Regions from separate parts of the Homo sapiens genome. Here region 2 is linked to region 1. Evidence: promoter capture Hi-C in 16 types of primary human blood cells and fetal thymus (Javierre and others, 2016). All regions are on one chromosome and are shown on one strand. Each heading gives the region's core, a stretch centred on a gene start or on the middle of the fragment in contact. The rest is flanking DNA. Distances are from core to core; before and after follow the strand shown.

Region 1 (4,122 bases), core at 1,185-3,684:
CTCCCTTCTCTGACTGTCTTTTTGGACTCAGCCCGCCGGCACCCAGGTGATTAAAAGCTTTATTGCTCACACAAAGCCTGTTTGGTGGTCTCTTCACACGGACGCGCATGAAAGATACCATCTGTGTAAAGTCAGCACTTCCATCTGAGGCCACTCTCTAGTTCCCATAATGCTAATAGGAACCATCCCCAAAGCCAAATATCACTTACTGGATCAGAGTTCTCAGGACAGAATGTCTCTCTTACTACCATTCAGCTTCCTCCCAACCATTACCATCCCAGCACCCTTAATGTGCTCTCTCCCCTGAAGCTGCTCCAGTTGCTAGAATGGCATCATTAGTACTGTATCACTCTTTAAGATTCAGTAAAGCAACAGGAAGAGGATGCATGACTCCCTGAGGTACTCTGTAGTCTCAGCAGAACAGCACTGTAGGAAAATTATATTCCTGTTCTTGATGCCTCTTCCCATCCCCTCAACATTCCCATTCCTTTCCCTACACCAGCATTTGGTTCACCCAGGACACCCCATTTAGGGTGCAGCCAATATAGCCATAATAGAAAAACTTCATTAAGGAGCTCAACTCATAATAACAAAAACTCAAAATAGTTTTTGTTTTAATCAATAGCTTTCCCCTTCCCCACTGGGTTGGAGCCTCTTAACACCTTGACCAGATTCCATACATTCCTGTCATTTTCTGTTGCACTGGACTGGTCCCATTGGGTATTTAAAAGCCAGGGTTACTGACATTAAAAGTTCAATTGCAAACATTATTCAAAACCTGTTGCACTCATTAACCCTGTGACTTGTGGAAATGAGATCTACTTTTCATACACCTCCCTTTTCTTTCTGTCTTCAAATCCTTTCCCTCTCTTCAGTTCACTCTAGAATCCCAGTAATTCTCAACCTTGACTGCACACACTGGATTACCTAGGAGTTTAAAAACTACCAATACCAAAGTCCACTCCCAGAGATTCTGATTAAATTGTCCTGGAGGAGTCCTTGACATCAGGACTTTTTAAAGCTCCTGGGGTGATTCTAACATGAAGCCGAGTCTGAGAGACATGACTGCAGACTCTCACAGACACTCACTGCGGATAGAACAGGGAGGAATGGAGATGCTGCCTAACTGGCTGTTTCTTGGCAGTGAGGACGGAACCTAGGCTGATTCCCTCTGGTCCCTTCTGATGCTGCTGGCTCTGCTGGTCTGAGGGTTGCATATAGGTATACGGGTTTCTTCTGAAGTGTGAAGGTAGGGGGTCAGCTGTATCATAGCCCAGTCCCCCCCTGCTGATCCCTTCTAACAGTGGGATGGGCATCCAACTATTTGACTCTTACTCTCACCACCATCCTCTTCCACGTGAATCAATTCTTTTTGCAGGGAATTGGGGTGGCATGAGGTGTCCCCAACTTCTTTGCAGGCACACTAATAATAAATAGCATCACTTATTCAGCATCTACTCTATGCCAAGAATTATACTGGTTGCTTTCTTTTTTTCTTTCTTTCTTTTTTAGATGGAATCTCACACTGTCGCCCGAGCTGGAGTGCAGTGGCGCGATCTCAGCTCACTGCAATCTCCGCCTCCCGGGTTCAAGTGATTCTCCTGCCTCAGCCTCCCAAGTAGCGGCGATTACAGGCATGTGCCACCATGCCCAGCTAATTTTTTGTATTTTTAGTAGAGACAGGGTTTCACCATGTTGGCCAGGCTGGTCTCAATCTCCTGACCTTGTGATCAGCCTGCCTTGGCCTCCCAAAGTGCTGGGATTACAGGCATGAGCCACCGCACCCAGCCTGATTTCTTATTTAATTATCACACAAGCCTGCCAAGAGGTATCAATCCATATTTCGTAAATGAGGGAACTATCAGAGAAGTTTTGTTGCTTACCCAGCATTACACAGTAAGAAAGTAATAGAGCCAGGTGAGAAATTCAGATTTGACTTCAAAACGACAGCCTCTTCATTGTTCTATTTTACCTGAAGTCATTCCTTTTATAATGGTACCTGTTTAACATGTTCCCCCGCTTAGATAATGCAGCTGCCTTCTACTGAGGAGTTTTAGTGCCATGATCCATCAGTCCACTGACTGATGATGGAGATTTCCAGCTGAGACAGGCAGGCAGATGGAGGAAAATTACCCCTAGCCCCACCCCCTACACCAACATAGGCACTGCTTATATTCAAAGACGTACTTTAGATCTGCTATCTACTAGAAAAATCCAGATTTGTGCAGATCACAGTTCCACCCACTCATCAGCATTTCTCAGCTTTCTGCCCCCAGGACCCACTAATCATTTACAGCTTGTTGATGGTTATTTGAACCCAGGGTCAAGGTGAACACCCTCAGTTACACAACAAAAATGTATCAAGGTTTTGTTTAATCAATTGCGTGTGTTTCAGAAAGTCTGTATAAAATTCTCTGCAGTGGCAGATCATAGCAAGGGATGGTTTAACAAAATGAAGGCACTCATTGCAGCACTGCTTTTGATCACATTGCAGTATTCGTGTGCCGTGAGTCCCACTGACTGCAGTGCTGTTGAGCCGGAGGCTGAGAAAGCTCTAGACCTGATCAATAAAAGGCGACGGGATGGCTACCTTTTCCAATTGCTGCGGATTGCTGATGCCCACTTGGACAGAGTGGTGAGGAATTGCCAATGGCAGAGCTGAGTTGGGAGATTACTCACGGGGGCAAATGTGACTCTACCCCCTAGGCTTACTGCTTTGCACAATGAATGGCTTTGGTCAGAGTTTTTTGTTTGGCTTCTGCGGCTGCTCTAAATTGTTCTTTTTTCCTTCAAACTAATATTTGTTATTAGTGTACCCGCAACTATGATTCGATTTGTGGGTACATATAAGCATTTATGCTGAGCCCAGTTACATGCTAAGGACTGCCAGAGAAACATTAGAATAAGCTATGGGCCTTGGCCTCCAGGAAATAATAATACACTGGCACATACAGGCAAACAGTGTAAGTTACTAGGATAAACTAGAGAGAAGGAAAAGTTTTCTCAACCCTCCTAAGGCTCCTAACTGAGCCTGAAATAAAACTGGTAGACAAGGCCAGGCGCGGTGGCTCACGCCTGTAATCCCAGCACTTTGGGAGGCCAAGGCGGACGGATCATGAGGTCAGGAGTTCAAGACCAGCCTGGCCAACATGGTGAAACCCTGTCTCTACTAAAAATACAAAAACTAGCTGGGCATGGTGGTGCACGCCTGTAATCCCAGCTACTCAGGGGGTTGAGGCAGAAGAATCGCTTGAACTCGGGAGGCAGAGGTTGCAGTGAGTCGAGATCATGCCACTGCACTCCAGCCTGGGCAACAAAGCTAGACTCCATCTCAAAAAAAAAAAAGAAGAAGAAGAAAACATACAAATTTATTTAATCCAAGGTTTACCTGACACTGGAGTCTTCATAAATGAAGACTCAGATATCCAAAGAAACTGGCCACTTGCATACTTAGAATTCACAAAGGCTGTGCAGAATGCAGAAGTGTGATGGGACAAAAGGCTGTAATCTAAGAGTCATAGACTGAAAGAAGGACCCAGCAAGGCCTCTCTGTTTGAGTTCTTCATGGCCTCTCTGTGTGGCATTTCTTGCTCCCAAGTATGGGACAGGATCCCTTTGGAATGCGGATCTGAGGACCTACTATCAAACAGAGTAGGTCAGAGAATGTCTTTATGGCCAGCTCCTACAAAGAAAGACACAGGGGGAAGGTTAGATTCATATTTTAGGATTTATGGATGCTTTCGGGGAGAGGGATTCTACCATCTGTGACTGTCCTGGAGAAGAGAAATTTTAGTTTCTATGGCTTGCCTTGGGGGAGAAAGCAGAGTAGGAGAACAAAGGGCAGAAGGTCAGACAGATCTGGCTTCTGAGGCCCTTCCCATTTTCTTCAGTTCAAAGGACTCAGCACGCCAAAAGTACCATACTTTGAGATACCATGTTCTGAGCCCCAACAATAGCCAAGTGACCAAAGGAGTGGTAAATGTACTGGAGCAATTTAATGAGGGGAGATCTAGTAAGACTGGATGGGAGGAGGCTTCTGCTGTGTAATGATGCATGGGTAGGATTTGAACAGGTCTGGGTAAATGTGTTCCTGGTGAATTCCTGGCACCACCACTTCTAGGT
Region 2 (4,122 bases), core at 851-3,350, 500 kb after region 1:
TTTCTGATTGATGGTCAATTGTAAATACCAATTTAATGCTTGTCTCTGTACTGTGGTCCCCCCTTATACATGGGAGATACATTCCAAGATCCTCAGTGGATACATGAAACTGCAGATAGTACTGAAACCTAAATATACTACGTTTTTTCCTATACACACATACCTATGATAAATTATATGATATATGATAATTTATAAATTACACAGAGTGGGCAGAGTGTGGTGGCTTACGCCTGTAATCCCAGCACTTTGGGAAGCCAAGGTGGGCAGATCACAAGGTCAAGTGATTGATACCATCCTGACCAACACGGTGAAACCCCATCTCTACTAAAAATACAAAAATTAGCTGGGTGTGGTGGTGCATGCCTGTAGTTCTACTCAGGAGGCTGAGGCAGGAGAATCGCTTGAACCTGGGAGGTGGAGGTTTCAGTGAGCCGAGATCGCGCCACTGCACTCCAGCCTGGGTGACAGAGCAAGACTCCATCTCAAAAAATGAAACAAACAAACAAACAAACAAAACTTACACACAGTAAGAAATTAACAATAATAAAATAGAACAATGATTAGATATACTGTAATAAAAATTATGTAAATGTGGTCTCTCTTTCTCAAAATATCTTATTGCTCTGTGTTCACCTATTTTCAAACCATGGTTGACCATGAGTAACTGAAACCATGGATAGCAAAACCTTGGATAAGGGGGGAGCTCATGTACTAAGCACCCCAGAAGGATGTGCAGACCACCTCTGCCTTTGGTTTATGTGGAATGTCACCCCCAGCAAAACCCATCTTGTGCTAACAACACACAGTTATGGTGTTTCTGTAAGAAACCTTAACTTGTCCTGAGAATTTGAAGAGGAATCCTTCCGCTTCCAGAGATCTTTGTTATTCGCTCTCATGACCTATCTATCTTGGCATGATGTGATGGTTGTATGAATGCCAGCAAATCACTATAGACTCTAAGTTCACTGACAGCAGAGTCTGCCTTCTTTGTAAATAAATACTTTACTCTTACCACACATACTGAAATATAGTAGAGTTCAACAAATGTTTCTTAAATGATGAGGGGTCTTTTGGTCTTATATAGTTCAGGTGGTTGGGGTATGGAGTAAAGGATTTAAATATTTGGCCAATCAAATTAAAAAGGGAAGCTGTCCTGGATTTGTTTTAAGTGATGATCCAGGGCAGAGGATTTGCTCAGGACTTAGCAGTAGAATGATGCTCTACCTGAAAAGCTTGTTTGTTTTTGCTGAGTAGGTACTGAGCACTTTCTCACTATTTTTCTCTCCCTTCTCACATTGGTAGCTGCAAACATAGAGCTTGTTTTGTGGTACTCCTATAACACATGTATACATCTATGCCCCAAATCCAGTCCTGGATCCATCTTATTTACAGTTTTATTCCCTTTTACCTTCTGCTTTTGTTTTTACTATTAAAATTTTTTTTAAATTTCAAATTTCCAAATGCAACTCCTTGAAATTCTTCATAATCATTCTTCATAATTCCTCATAATTCTTCAAAAAGAATTCCTTAAAATCATCTAATTTAGTACATAATTAAGTTGTCTGTGTTATCTCAAACATGCCTTTTTATAGTTGATTTGATTCAGTCAGAAAGTTCACATATCACATCGGGTTGTGCGTCTCAATTCTTTTTAACTTTATAGCAGTCCTCCTTCCCCCTCTTCTTCTTTACCATTTATTTATTTGGAAAAAAAATCATGTATCTTGTAGAATTGCTCACATTTTGGACTTTGGTGATACATTCTTGTGGTTTTTGTCTGAGACGTTTCCTCATACTTCGTATTTCCTCTAGACTATCTACAGGCCTGATCAGGTATGTTTTTTTTTTTTTTTTTTTTGGAAGTCTCACTCTGTCACCCAGGCTGGAGTGCAGTGGCACGATCTAGGCTCACTGCAACCTCTGCCTCCCGGGTTCAAGCGATTCTCCTGCCTCAGGCTCCTGAGTAGCTGGGATTACAGGCACGCGCCACCATGCCCAGCTAAATTTTGTATTTTTAGTAGAGACAGGGTTTCATCATGTTGGTCAGGCTGTTCTCGAACTTCTGACCTCGTGATACACCCACTTTGGCTTCTCAAAGTGCTGGGATTATAGGCGTGAGCCACCGCACCCAGCCAGATTTGGATTTTTTAATGTGACTATTTCAGTGCTAGTGTTGGACTGTTCCTGCAGCGTTATATTAGGAGACACGTGATGTCTGATTGCCTTTCTTTTCTTAATTGATCAGTAAGATCAGATGGTGTCAGCCTGACCCATCCACTATAAAGTTCCCCACAACATCTTAATTAATGAGTTTAGCAGATTTAGATTTTTTTCTTTATCATTATTTCATTAGGACTGCAAAATAGTGATATTCTGATCCTATTGTTCCCTTTTATTTTTTATTTATTTACTTTTTGAGATAGAGTCTTGCTCTGTCACCCAGGCTGGAGTTCAGTGGCGCAATCTCAGCTCACTGCAACCCCCACCACCTGGGTTCAAGTAATTCTCATGCCTCAGCTTCGCGAGTAGCTGGGATTACCAGTGTGCTCCACCAGGCCCAGCTGATTTTTTTGTATTTTTAGTAGAGATGGGGTTTCACCACATTGGACAGGCTGGTCTCAAACTCCTGACCTCAAGTGATCTCCCTACTTGGCCTCCCAAAGTGCTGAGATTACAGGTGTGAACCACTGCGCCTCGGCCCCTTTTCTTTTATTAATTGTAATTCTTCTCTAAAGAATAGCTTCCCCTCAACTATTATTTGGTTATCACAAAATGCAGATTACATAAGGAAGCCAAGATAAATATGTAATATTTTTCCCTTGCCTATTTTTGAAATAAATAGTTGGTTTTTTTTATTTAAAATATCATTATTAATTTATGGATTTTTAGCATATTTGATGTACTTCAATGAATTGTGGCCATTATTCTTTTTGATGATCCAATTATTTTGTTTTTGGCCAGTGAAAGCTTCTTCAGGTTAGTTTCATTTGCCTTTTGTCTTTTGACATGACAATAGGAATTTTTGAAATCTGGTACAAGAAAATATTCCAGGCTCATTTTATACATTTATTGACTTATATCTGAAGGAATTATTTTTCCAGAAAGTTCTGATCACTTTTGGTGATCCAGGTGCTGAGAGGTACTTGTTGCTAATGGATTGATGATTTATTTCTTTCAGGTCTGTGTAATAGACAAAGTTAGGAAGTTCATAATTTTTATGGGCAATACAATTTCATTATGATATAATACTTATATTTCCAATTCAAATTCAGATAATAGGAATTTTTATTTACCATCTTAGATTTTATGTATTTCCAATCTCTTTTTGATTACCATAAAAATCTTGGTTCCCAGTAACATTAATAGAAGCACTAATACAATGTGTTACTTACCCTATTAAAATAAAAATAATAACACTGTAATTACTCCCCATCCCCACACTTCAGCCTCCATGAGATATATGGAAACAGTCAAATTATTATGTTTTAAAGTCATTTGAAATAATTCACCATTGAGTAAGCCACAGATTTCATAATGTTAGGTTAATTTTTTCCCCAAGTTTTCAGAATTTTTAAAAATTCAATTTTTTTGTTTTATAATTATGTAAAAAATAACATGGACCCAAAACAACACAACACAACAAAGCACATTTAGAAATATCTGTGTTCTACCTGTGTCTCCTCTACCCTGTTCCCTCCTCCCCAGTGAACAATAATATTCCTTAGTTTTTAACTTATCTTTCCATTTATTTTTAATATAGTCAAATATGTATCTTTCATCCTTCGAGGAAAGGTAGCAATCTTTATATACAGTTCTGCCCCTTGGTTTTTTCTTTTCCTTTTTTTGTTTTTTAGTTGAGAGGCTATCCTGGATATCACTCCATAATGGTTTATAGAGATTATCCTCATTCTTTTGTTTAGCTCCATAGTTCTTTACTGGGTGGTGTTTCATATTTTATTCCTCTTGTATCTTACCATAGGTAAGGTATGCCGTACAGTTTAGGTTGTTTCCAATTCCGACTGCTACAAACAACATAGTACTGAATAGCGATTTGTGTATATCATTTTCTGTTTTTGTCAACATATGTTAGGCATAAATTTCTAGACATAGGATTGCTGG

Evidence for each region. The method cuts DNA at HindIII sites, captures the fragments that hold promoters and counts their contacts. A CHiCAGO score of 5 or more calls a contact.
Region 2: a fragment that was not itself captured here is called in contact with the fragment with the promoter of HRG in region 1 in 1 of 17 cell types (naive B cells); the score reaches 5.0 in naive B cells.

The regions. Positions count from the first base shown.
Region 1 is chr3:186,663,580-186,667,701 of GRCh38, forward strand. HRG (histidine rich glycoprotein) reads left to right here and starts at 2,435. Exons shown (of 7, transcript NM_000412.5): 1 at 2,435-2,635. The coding sequence starts at 2,453. HRG-AS1 (HRG and FETUB antisense RNA 1) reads right to left here and starts at 2,055. Exons shown (of 3, transcript NR_187317.1): 1 at 2,000-2,055. RefSeq lists an enhancer at 1-250. The HindIII fragment of the contact is 4,199 bases long and covers 56-4,122 here.
Region 2 is chr3:187,168,523-187,172,644 of GRCh38, forward strand. No RefSeq gene overlaps it. Among named protein-coding and RNA genes, the nearest start is that of RTP1, 27 kb to the right of the region's middle. RefSeq lists an enhancer at 2,321-2,822. The HindIII fragment of the contact is 1,735 bases long and covers 1,234-2,968 here.